2 separate regions of the Homo sapiens genome follow, and region 1 is linked to region 2. The links are contacts of gene promoters, found by promoter capture Hi-C in blood cells and fetal thymus (Javierre and others, 2016). All regions are on one chromosome and are shown on one strand. Each heading gives the region's core, a stretch centred on a gene start or on the middle of the fragment in contact. The rest is flanking DNA. Distances are from core to core; before and after follow the strand shown.

Region 1 (6,572 bases), core at 3,293-5,792, 44 kb after region 2:
CATGGAGAGGAGAGGAAAGGAAAGGATGGAGGGCTGGGGAGGGTAGGGGAGGTGAGTAGAGGGGAGAGGATCAGAGGGGGAAAGGGGAAGAGGAGGAAAGGAGGAATGAAATGAACGGAGAAGGGAAAGGGGGAAGGAAGGGGAAAGGGAAAAGGAAGGGAAGGGGAAGATGGAAGGGAAGGGGGAAGGGATGGGAAGGCACTGCAAAACTCTAATCAGCTGAGCCGTACTCAAAGGCCTTGCCCTACAACCAGAAAATCAGCAAATGAACTTTTATCTACATGTGTATGTTTTAGGTCGATATAAAATGTTTATCATGGCTCTTTCTAAGAAGCATGTTTAAATTAGGTAACTGCCTTCAATCTCAATCATGTTAGATAAGAGGGCTTCTAGTAGAAAGTATATCTGTTGAATCACATTACCAAACAGTGCACCATATACTTTAGTGTATGATAAAATAATTATGTTTCCTAATTATCTGAGGCTTCTTAGTTGGTCAACAGATGATGCTAACACCAATGAGGCCAAGTTCTAAATTTCTTATGTTCTATGGCCTCATGCTATGCCTTGAAACCTGGTTCACTATAAACATAGAAAGAAAACTAAAGAATATGGATAAATGTATTAATAATATTACAGAAACTCTTCAAGATTGTATATTCTTGGGAAAATATATAAGACAAAATGACAAGCTTAAAAGCATTTATACATCAGTTATGTAAAGAAAACAAAAGCTTAGAAAACCTACATAAAGTCATTAATAGAAGAGATTCAATTTTTCTTTATACTTTCTGTTTTCCAAATATGCTCCAATTATATCGAAGTGTTCTTTTTAAAAAAATTAACTTTTTAAATTATATGGCCCGGCTGGGCACCGCAGCTCACACCTGTAATTCCAGCACTTTGGAAGGCCGAGGCAAGTGGATCACCTGAAGTCAGGAGTTCGAGACCAGCCTGGCCAACATATAGTGAAACCCCATCTCTACTAAAAATACAAAAATCAGCGGGGTGTGGTAGCGCATGCCTGTAATCCCAGCTATTCAGGAGACTGAGGCAAGAAAATTGCTTGAACCCAGGTGGCGGAGGTTGCAGTGAGCTGAGATTGTGCCACTGCACTCCAGCCTGGGCAACAGAGCGAGACTCCATCTCAAAATAAATAAATAAATAAAAATAAACTATATGGCCCAATCACCTGAGGTCAGGAGTTCGAGACCAGCCTGGCCAACATGGCAAAACTACGTCTCTATTAAAAATACAAAAATTAGCCAGGCGTGGTGGCGCATGCCTGTAATCCCAGCTACACAGGAGACCGAGGCAGGAGAATCACTTGAAGCTGGGAGGTGGAGGTTGCAGTGAGCCAAGATCGCGCCACTGCACTCTAATCTGGGTGACAGAGTGAGACTCTCTCAAAAAACAAAAAAAATTGATCAACTAAATTAAATTATATGGCCCAATGGCATGGTGCTATTTTTAATTTTATATTTATTGACATCTGTTTGGTAAAATTTATTACTTTTTTAAAAAGCTTTGAAAATAACTTTATAAAACTAAAATTAACCTTTTCCAGAAGTAATCTTTGAAGTACTAAAGAAAAGACTGCCATGCTGAAGATCCATCATTTCTCCCTTCAGTTTGTCCAATGCAACATCAACAAGGGCAAGTTCATCAGCCAAATCCTAAAATATACAAAAGTTCTGAATAAAATGTTCCTACTTAAGTTTTAGGAGAATAAGAAGAATTTTCATGTGGCTACTTGATAATTAAAGGAATCTCATATTTTAATAGGGAAAAATGATATAAAAATAGTTTTTCAATGAGCCTGGGTGACCGAAAGTCAAGGTAAGTAAATATTAAGATGTAGCAAAAATTGTTTGACTTCATATAATTGTTAGAACTTTTTAGAGCTGGGTGTTTTTTGTTTTTGTTTTTTTTTGCCATTCAGATAACAGTTTGAAACCAAGGAAAATAAAATGATTTCAAAGGCTTTTATTATATTTAGCCTTTATTTTTGTGTTTTTTGTTTTGTTTTGTTTGAGATGAAGTCTCACTCTGTCGCCCAGGCTGGAGTGCAGTGGCACAATCTCGGGCACTGCAACCTCCGTCTCCCAGGTTCAAGCAATTTTCGTGCTTCAGCCTCCCGAGTAGCTGGGATTACAGGCGCCCGCCACCATGTCCGGCTAATTTTTGTATTTTTAGTACAGACGGGGTTTCACCATATTGGTCAGGCTGGTCTCAAACTCCTAACCTCAAGTGATCTACCCACCTCAGCCTCGCAAAGTCCTGGGATTACAGGCCTGAGCCACTGCGCCCGGCCAGGATTTTATTATATTTAACCTTAACCCTAATTTCTGAGTTGGCTAAAGCTGCTTTTAGTATGCGTCGTTATGGCCCAAACAGGAAGGTAACCACCTCTGATGAACACTTATTGTTTTCATCTGTCTAGTGTCCCTTTTTCTGGTAATAGAATTTCTCTTTTCCATGGGAACCCATTCCATATGTTTCAGTGCAGTACAATTAACATTGGTTTTCCAAGCTTAGGGTAGATGGGCATAAAACCAGACCTAGCCAATTGTTCCATCCTTTCCTTCTGGTCACAGAAATCAGTTCATAAGTGGACATATGGCCCAGGTATAAGAAACAAGCATGTCTATGAAGTTTGAAAATGGAAGACGGAAGATTACATCTCACTTTTCTTTGGAATCATAAGCTCTAAGAATAACATGCAAATCTAAGAACATTAGTAAGGACTGTAGAGTTGGAGAAAAAACAAGAATCTAAGAACAAACTGTACAGCCATCTTTACCACCACATAGAAAGGCTCTACGAATTAAGCCAACAGAGAAAATCTAAACCAAGATATACAAAGACTATGTCTTGATATGTGTGAACTTCAGAATCCGGTAGTACCTGAAGCAGTTTTGCCCTATTTCCAGTTACATGAACAATATTTCGTCTTTTTCTGCTTACCCTAATTTAAACTGGGTTTTTGTCACATGTGACAGAGTACGGAACTATATACAAGGAGTGTATTCATTCAGATTTCAATAGCCAGATTCCAAAAGCGAACAGTAAGGGAAAGAAGTAAAAGTCCCTACTTAAGGCCAGGCGTGGTGGCTCATGCCTGTAATCCCAGCACTTTGGGAGGCTGAGGCAGGCGGATCACGAGGTCAAGAAATCAAGGCCATCCTGGCCAACATGATGAAACCCCGTCTCTACTAAAAATATAAAAATTAGCTGGGCGTGGTGGCACATGCCTGTAGTCCCAGCTACTCAGGAGGCTGAGGCAGGAGAACTGCTTGAACCCGGGAGGCAAAGGTTGCCGGGAGCCGAGATCCTGCCGCTGCACTCCAGCCTGGCAACAGAGCGAGACTCCGTCTCAAAAAAAAAAAAAAAAAAAAAAGAGAGAACAATAAACACTGGGGACTCCAAAAGCAGAGAGGGAGGAGGGCACAAGGGTTAAAAACAATACCTATTGGCAGCCAGGTGTGGTGGCTCATGCCTGTAATCCCAGTACTCTGGGAGGCCGAGGCAGGCGGATCACTTGAGGTCAGGAGTTCGAAACCAGCCTGGCCAACATGGAGAAACCCCATCTCTACTAAAAATATAAAAAATTAGCCAGGCCTGGTGGTGCATGCCTGTGGCCCCAGTTATTCAAGAGGCTGAGGCAGGAGAATCGCTTGATCCCGGGAGGTGGAGGTTGCAGTGGGCCAAGATCGCGCCACTGCACTCCAACCTGGGTAACAGACAAATCCTGTCTCAAAAAAAGAAAAAGAAAAGGAAAGTCAGAAAAAAAAAGAAAGGAAAAGAAAGAAGAAGTTTAAAAAAAAAGGAAAAGAAAGAGAGAAAGAAAAAGGAAGGAAGGAAGGAAGGAAGGGAGGGAGGGAGGGAGGGAGGAAAGGTCAAAGGATACATAATTGCTTTCAAGGGATTAACCTTGCAACCCTGAATACATCGACATATACAACACTCTGAAGTGCTCACTTGATTTTCAGCCACAGGATGGGCTTCTCACTCACCTTCAGTAAGATACTAATAGCACAAGCCATGCCTACGGCACCAGTTCCAACAATAGTAATTTTACACTGGGAGTTTTCATCATCCTCAATTAGCTTCTCAATTAGCTGCTCCTTGACAGTTGACATTTGGAGAACCTGATAGGGATAATGCAATTTCATTGGATTAACCACACTGAACATCTAAGAAACTACCTCTTCAGTTTGCAGAATGTTGGAGCCGGGGATGGGGGGAAGCCAAAGAAAGAATTTCCTGGTCAAAGGATGCGGGGAGGGTAAAGCAAGGCCCAGTCTACCAGGCAATGGGAGGGCTGGGGCACCAGCGGGCTTTTGGATTTCTCCCTGCCCCCAGCCACCACTTTCACCCCAGCACCACACGCTCACAAATGCTTTGCTTGGCGCAATCAGTACAGATGACCCACAGGGACAAAGCACCACCTTTGAAGGAAGGCACAGAAGTGACACCAGAAAAATACACCAACGACAGTTGAGGCGCTAAGCCCGTCGACGGTTGCCCTCCGTGCGACTCGAGACACGCACGTTCCCCCGCTCGGCTCTTATGCGTCAGCACGCAAGCTCCGCCCCCCGCCGGCCCAGGCGCGGGCATGGGGCGTCTTTTCTGCCCTGGAGCGCAGTGTGGGTGGCGGCGGTCCAGATCACCGAAATGCTGATGGGAAGAATTCTAGACTGGCCCAAAGAGTGTGCAAGACGGGGATATCCATGCATTGTTTGCAGGATTTTAAAAAATTATTAACTTCTGTAACTTCAGGACTGAGTGCTGAAATAAAGTTAGAATTTCTCTTGAGAGAACAGAGGGTGGTAATGAAACGCAAAGACGCGAAGGATGCTTTCAATTTACAGCAAGAAATTGTTAATATTTATAACTCATGGCCGGACGCGGTGGCTCACACCTGTAATCCCAGCACTTTGGGAGTCCGAGGCAGGTGGATCACCTGAGGTCAGGAGTTTGAGAACAGCCTGGCCAACATGGCGAAACCCCGTCTCTACTAAAAATATAAAATTAGTCGGGCATGGTGGTGCATGCCTGTAGTCCCAGCTACTTGGGAGGCTGAGGCAGGAGAATCGCTTGAACCCAGGAGGCGGAGGTTGCAGTGAGCCAAGATCGCGCCACTGCACTCCAGACTGGGCAACAAGAGAGAAACTCCATCTCAAAAAAAATTTACATATATATTTTTTTTTTTGTGAGAGAGATATATATCTCACAGAAGGGGACACAACCTACTCCATCTTTTGTAGAGTATTTGCATTTGAACCTTTTTCAAAATCCAAAATATAATTTATTTTTCTTATAATAGCCTGTAGTGTTGTTATTGTTGTTGTTTTTGAGACAGAGTCTCACTCTGTCGCCCAGGCTGGAGTGCAGTGGCACAATCTCAGTTCACTGCAACCTCCGCCGCCTGGGTTCAAGCAATTCTCCTGCCTCAGCCTCCCAAGTAACTGGGACTACAGGCGTGCGCCACCACGCCCGGCTAATTTTTGTATTTTTAGTAGAGATGGGGTTTCACCATGTTGGTCAGAATGGTCTCCAACTCCTGACCTAGTGATCCGCCCTCCCAAAGTGTTGGGATTACAGGCGTGAGCCACCGTGCTGAGCCACCGTGCCCAGCCGCCGGGCAAATTTTTTTGTATTTTTTTGTATTTCACCTTGCTGGCCAGGCTGGTCTCGAACTCTTGACCTCAAGTGATCCACCCACCTCGGCCTCCCAAAGTGCTGGGATTACAGGCGTGAACCACCGCACCCAGTCAGTATTTGTTTTCAATATGGTTCAGATTATGCAATAACCCTGCTTTAAACTCTTCCGTGGCTTTCCATTACAGGTAGAGTAACCCACTTTTACCACAACCTAGATCTTCAAGATTTGGCCTCCTACCCCCACTTCCCATATCATCTCAGGACACTCAATACACTTCCTTCCAACTAGGCTTTGGACAGCTTTTTTGGATCAGGACTTTTTGCTGTTCTTTAAACCAAGAAAGCTCTTTCCCCAGCCCTTCTCAAGGTTAATTCCTCATTTTCAGCTTTGCACATACATACTCTGGCTTTCCTTGACAAATGTCAACTACCATCATTTCCTGTATATCTCTCTCTTATGGCACTTTTCTCAACCAGCAACTAGCCTGAAGCTAGAGGCCTCCTATAGCAGACAGGAGCAGCAACCACTTGGTCCTATACCTCCACAGCAACCTCATTTATCCCCGGGCTGAGAGGGAGATTGCTGGCCTGGATGGACTGGAAATTTAAGCTCTACACCTGCCTCAGGCCCCTGGCGGCCAAGGAAGGTATCAGCTTGGTAGTGGCCAAACTGATGCTAGATGACTAGAACTGGCTCTTCATCCATGCCTGCCCAAATACTCCAAACTTACTTAACATTTTGCTTACTTGATTGCAGTAACTTTAGAACCAAAATTTGTCTTTATTTATTCTTGTACATTGCAACATTTACCAAAGCATAGTAGGTACTCACTAAAGAATTTTTGGGCCAGACATGGTGGCTCACTCCTGCAATCCCAGCACTTTGGGAGGCCGAGGCTTCAGCC
Region 2 (6,281 bases), core at 96-2,595:
TTAAATGAAAAAAGATTATTGTATTTGGTACTCGTAGGCTGCCTACCATCACTGACACGCTTGTATACTCTTTTCTGCCACCTATTTCTCTCCAGTTTGTTTTGTGAGCTGAGTTTCCAAATCAAGCAAAGGGGTACCTCATATTGTCATTACGTGAAAGTGAAATGTCAACATACTTTCACAGAGATGCTTCTAACCCACATGATATCATCATACAATTTTTAAAAAGGAGCGCCCTCTGGGTGAACAACTAAAAAAAGGGCACCTTTTCCTCTGATGCCCCTCACACTGGCTCCCCACTCACCACCTTGAACTGGACACAACCTCCACAACCATACGCTGTGGCCTCGCCTCCAACTGAGGTGAACCCTGTGGTGCAGAGCACACAACTTACTTTTAATAAGATGCTGATAGCACAAGCCACACCAACCGATCCAGTTCCTACAATGGAGATCTTATTGTGATGAATGGCCTCCTCTTCCGCGAAATTCTTAATAAGTTCACTCTTGATAGTTGCCATCTTGGAAACCTAACAGTGAAGACAAATTGCACAGCCATTTCCAAGACCTGGAATTGGAAATGGCTTGGAATTCCAAGACCTGCGGTGAGAGCGCGTATAGAGAACTCCTGGGCCCGTGTGGAAGGAGGTGCTGCAGACACACAAAAGACCGACAAATCTGACCAGCAAAGAAGCTGGGTAGGTTCTGGCCAGGCAGCTCAGCATCCATGAAGCGGACCAGGGGAAGGAGAAGGAAGCGTGAGTACAGTTAAGAGGAATTAAGAGAGAGAGAGAGGAAAGGAACAGGGGTTGCTCCACCAAACATGAAACTACAGCTGGGACGGCACTCCGTCCCGCAGCTGACCCCCTTTTCTCTCCCCTTTACCCTGCTGTTCCCCCAACCTCCAGTTCTCAGCTCCAGGACTGCGCCCGGGGTCCGCAGGTCCAGGTGAGAGGTACTTCTGGCCACACTCACAGGGGTGAAGGGCCACCCGCGCCCGAGCAGGTCACATGCCGCCTGGCGGAGACACAGAACCATCCTTGGGCAAAAACAATTCGCTCCCGCGGCGCCCGCTCTCTGGCTGCTCCCCAGGACTCTTGCAGCCCAGCTCATGGCCACTCACTCAAGAGGTGAAGAAAGAGAATGGAGGAAAATGGCGTTAAAGCTCATCGAGGCACGAAGGAGATGAACCGCCGACTAACAGACGCCGGGTCGCCCCCTTACTGCAGCTGCGCGGACCGCACCCAGCTCGTGCAGGCATCGCAGGTGTGATGCTTGGCAGGTGTGATGCTTGGCAGGTGTGATGCTTGGCAGGTGTGATGCTTGGCAGGTGTGAGGCCGGAAGCGGGCTGCGAAGCACCGCGCCTGCGCCTCTGCCTGCCCGCCCCGCCCCCGCGTGCGGGTGGGCGGGCTGCGGTGTAGGTGGTTGGCCGGCTGCAGAAGGCGCACGAGGTGCTGCAGGCACAACGCAGTGCAGGGCCTCTGCTGTTGGGCGGAGTTGTTTGCCTAGAACCCATCCACCAGAGAGCCCAAGTAATTTTATTTCTAACCAAACCTTGTCTGGATGTATCTGAAAAGGACTGTTTGACTCTCACGTGAAAATTTTCCCCCAGCCCTGTAGGAGAAAGGGACCTCAAGATTAACTTTTACCACCTCAAATGTGAGCTAAAGTAGAAAAAGTAAAATTTTAAAACTCTGGGCCGAGCGTGGTGGCTCACGCCTGTAATCCCAGCACTCTGGAAGGCCAAGGCGGGCGGATCACCTGAGGTCAGGGGTTCGAAATCAGCCTGGCCAACATCGTGAAACCACGTTTCTACTAAAAATACAAAAATTAGCTGGACGTGGTGGTGCACCCCTGTAATCCCAGCTACCTGGGAGGCTGAAGCACAAGAATTGTTTGTGAACCTGGGAGGCGGAGGTTGCAGTAAGCCGAAATTGTGCCACTGCACTCCAGCCTGGGTGACGGAGTGAGACCCTGTCTCAAAACAACAACAAAACTCTGTATGCAAAAGGAATTTGGAAATAAGATATGAAACCTGAAGAATTTGATGAATGCAGTGCCAATTGATAACCATTTTTACAAGATGAAGGGAAAGCTCAATTCATTATTAAGTGGTTAAATGTAGAATCCACACTTTGGGAGGCCGAGGCGGGTGGATTAGCTGAGGTCAGGAGTTCGAGACCAGCCTGGCCAACATGGCGAAACCCCGTCTCTACTAAAAATACAAAAATTAGCCGGGTGTGGTGGCACGCACCTGTAATCCCAGCTACTCAGGAGGCTGGGGCAGGAGAATCGTTTGAACCCGGGAGGCGGAGGTTTTGGTGAGCCGAGATCATGCCACTGCCCTCCAGCCTGGGTGACAGAGTGAGACTCCGTCTCAAAAATAAAAAACAAAAATGTAGAATTGAAAATCAGTCTGGAATAAACCAAGGTTTCTACTTCTCCCACCACATTTTACCTAATTGTTTTCTCATTTGTGAATCATAATACGTAATTTTGATGGTTAATACTGAGTGTCAACTTGATTGGATTGAAGGATGCAAAGTGTTGAACCTGGGTGTGTCTGTGAGGGTGTTGCCACAGGAAATTAACATTTGAGTCAGTAGGCTAGAAGACGCAAACCCACCCTCTATCCGGGTGAGCACCATCTAGTCAGCTGCCAGCACGTCTAGGATAAAAGCAGGCAGAGGAACGTGGAGGGACTAGACTGGCTAAGTCTTCCAGCCTTCATCTTTCTCCTGTGCTGGATGCTTCCTGCCCTCAAACATTGGACTCCTAGTTCTTCAGCTTTGGAACTCCGACTGACTTTCTTGCTTCTCAGCTTGCAGACGGCCTATTGTTGTGGGACCTCACCTTGTGATTGTGTGAGTCAATACTCCTCAATAAACTCCCCTTTATATATATAGCTATCCTATTCGTTCTGTCCCTCTAGAGAACCCTAATACAGTAATACATATTGACAAATTTTTATAAAATGTAGAGCAGTGTTTCTCAATCTTTTTTCATTATCACTCCCTCAAGAGTCTTTGTAGATATGTTCCCCCTAATTGTTTTGCACCCCCATCATGAAATTAAATATTAAGGAGTTGGCCGGGCGCGGTGGCTCACGGCTGTAACCCTAGCACTTTGGGAGGCCGAGGCGGGCGGATTGCCTGATCTTAGGAGTTCGAGACCAGCCTGGGCAAAACGGTGAAAGCCCGTCTCTACTAATATAAAAGAAATTAGCCAGGCGTCAGCTACTCGGGAGGCTGAGGCAGGAGAATGGCGCGAACCGGGGAGGCGGAGCTTGCAGTGAGCCGAGATCGTGCCACTGCACTCCAGCCTGGGCCACAGAGCGAGACTCCGTCTCAAAAAAAAAAAAAAAAAAAGGAAAGGAATTAGCCGGGCGTGGTAGCAGGCACCTGTAGTCCCAGCTACTCAGGAGGCTGAGGCAGGAGAATTGCTTGAACCTGGGAGGTGGAGGTTGCAGTGAGTGGAGCTTGCGCCACCGCACTGCAGCCTGGGTGACAGAGCAAGACTCCATCTCTTAAAAAAAAAAAAAAAAAAAAAAAACCTATATATATATATATATATATATATATATATATATATATATACACACACATACACATATACATATACGTTTATTTGTCAGGCAAGGTTGAGCTCTGGAGAGCCAAACTCTTGTAATATCTAAGTTTTTTTTTACCTTTTCCTCCCTCCCCCATACCCAGAACCAATTTTCAGCCACTTGGGGACATGTAGAGCAGTTTTACTTACTAGAATGTTCCCTGTAGAAACTGTATCAATTTTTCAGCCTTTTAATCTCTGCAAGAATTTCCTAAAATGAAGTTTTGATGTACAAACGAGCTTTTAAAAAAGCCAAAACCCACAGAAGACTCCCCTTGCCCTCATCCTAACTCAACTGATAATAATTGTATATATTCAAGGGAAGATGCTGAAGAAAAAGGGGAAATAATAAAATAATGGGACACTAATCATGATCAGGAGTAGATGACCAGAATGAAAGCTATCAAGAGAGCAAGAATAACAGACTCAGAGGGTAAGCCATGACTCTCTGACCAAATGAGTCAGCCTTCACTAGTCATGCGAGTCCTCAGGGGCTGCATATCTACCTTCTGATCTTTCCCATTGGTCCAGTTCTAGTCTTAATTTGTAAATTGACCAGGAGTGGTGGCTCATGCCTATAATCCCAGCACTTTGGGGGGCCGAGGCAGGAGGACTGCTTGAGCCCAGGAGTTGAGGACCAGCCTGGGCAACATGGTGAAACCCTGTCTCCAAAAAATACGAAAATCTGCAGGGCGTGGTGGCATGTGCCTGTAGTCTCAGCTACTCAGGAGGCTGAGGTGGGAGGATCTGATGAGCCCTGGAGTTCGAGGCTGCAGCGAGCCACAATTACCCGCTGCACTCCAGCTCCAGCCTGGGTGACAGAACAAGACCTTGTCTAAAAAAAGAAAAAAAATTGTAAATTACCTTGATACTGATTTCTTAGTTTTTGTTTTATTGTATAGTTCCTATAGCTGCCTTAAATTTCTTGTGGAATCAAGGAAATACTTCATATGTATCTATATACTATATAAATCAGTAGAAGCATTTTCACCTTTAGACACCAACAGGGAGCTATTAATGACTATTATCAAACATTAGTCAATAATCAGCCGGGCGCAGTTGCTCACACCTGTAATCCCAGTACTTTAGGAGGCTGAGGTGGGCAGCTCACTTGAGGTCAGGAGTTCAAGACCAGCCTGGCCAACATGGTGAAACCCTGTCTCTACTAAAAATAAAAAAATTAGCCAGGCGTGGTGGTGGGTGCCTGTAATCCCAGCTACTTGGGAGGCTGAGGCAGAAGAATCACTTGAACCCAGGAGGTGGAGGTTGTAGTGAGCACAGATCGTGTCACTGCACTCTAGCCTAGGTGACAGAGTGAGACTCCATCTCAAAAAGGAAAAAAAAATTAGTCAAAAATCAATTCGTTGAGGTACCCTAAATACTCACTGTGGATACTTGAGGGCAGAGATAATGTCATACTGATTTCATAACTATACCATAGCAAGCATAGTAATAGTCTGCTGCACAAATAACTGAGGATGGCATAAGCTCCCCAGGTGATATTTCAATTGAGACACCAAATCAACTATTTGAGTTTATATGACTAGTATAATACTTGCAGAGTTGAATACAATCTTATTTAGATTTTTTACATCGTAAAGTTACATCTGTATCTTCTTCTTGTTTCTGCTTTTCTTCTGTGTTCTTCTTCTTCTTTTGAGTCTGAGTCTTCCTCTGTGGCCCAGGCTGGAGTGCAGTGACACAATCATAGCCTTGAACTCCTGGGCTCAAGTTATCTACTGGTCTCAGTCTCCCAAGTAGCTGGACTACAGATGCAGGCCACCACATCTAATTTCTTTATTTTTGTAGAGATGGGGTGTTGCTATGTTGCCAAGGCTGGTCTCAAACTCCTGGACTCATGTGATCCTCTTGCCTCACCCTCCCAAAGCACTGGGATTACAGCCATGAGCCACAGCACTCAGCTTTTTATTTCTTTTTGATATATATGGTCTTAAAAATAAGCATTTATAATGATTTTTTTTGAGACAGAGCCTCACTCTTTCACCCAGGCTGCAGTGCCCGGCCACATTTATAATGATTATACATAAACATATGACGCTAATGTAATGAAGTGAATATGCTGGTACTCTAACGGATGAAAGTACAAGATAAAATTGTAATACTAGAAAAAGGGCTTGGTTTGTGAAAAGAATCAAAGCTCTGTATTATAGTGATTATACATATTCTACTACATCTGAAGGCACTCTAACATATGTGACATACCTCAGAAGTATAACTTACACCTGTACAGATTGGGTATCATTAGAATAGAGCTATAAATGATTCTTAAAGAGGAAAATCTCTTTACCATTTGCTCGTTCTAATCTTGAGAGACTAGAGTTATGTCACAGGTCTCCAATTTGTTTTTATTTTTTAAAGATCAAATGAAAATACTTTCAAAATTTAAAATACACAGCCTGCTATCTTCTGTTCTCCAAACAGTGGAACATTAGAAGGCTTTAATTTAAAATATTAGATCCTTTTGAATATTCCAAAGTGTTTCTGCACTCTTCTTGAAAAGGGCCTCCTCCTCAGAATTCAAGTTAATTTTCACAACATCTGAGACACCATTCCGCCCCAAGACACAAGGGATACTGAGAAAGAGTTCTTCTTTTATTCCATATAATCCCTGAAAGGCAAGATAAGATATTGTTCAAATAACCTGATATGGA

What was found. Contacts are between HindIII fragments. The CHiCAGO score rates a contact against its expected background, and 5 or more counts as called.
Region 1: a contact is called between the fragment with the promoter of LDHC here and the fragment with the promoter of LDHAL6A in region 2, in 8 of 17 cell types (total CD4 T cells, erythroblasts, naive CD8 T cells and 5 more). The highest score is 7.0, in total CD4 T cells.

Annotation. Positions count from the first base shown.
Region 1 is chr11:18,410,288-18,416,859 of GRCh38, reverse strand. It overlaps LDHC (lactate dehydrogenase C), which reads right to left and starts at 4,542. Exons shown (of 8, transcript NM_017448.5): 1 at 4,452-4,542; 2 at 4,017-4,151; 3 at 1,559-1,676. The coding sequence starts at 4,142. The HindIII fragment of the contact is 7,298 bases long and covers 2,536-6,572 here.
Region 2 is chr11:18,450,920-18,457,200 of GRCh38, reverse strand. It overlaps LDHAL6A (lactate dehydrogenase A like 6A), which reads right to left and starts at 1,345. Exons shown (of 7, transcript NM_144972.5): 1 at 395-1,345. The coding sequence starts at 520. It overlaps LDHC (lactate dehydrogenase C), which reads right to left. Exons shown (of 8, transcript NM_017448.5): 8 at 5,138-6,238. The coding sequence ends at 6,074. The HindIII fragment of the contact is 8,824 bases long and covers 1-6,281 here.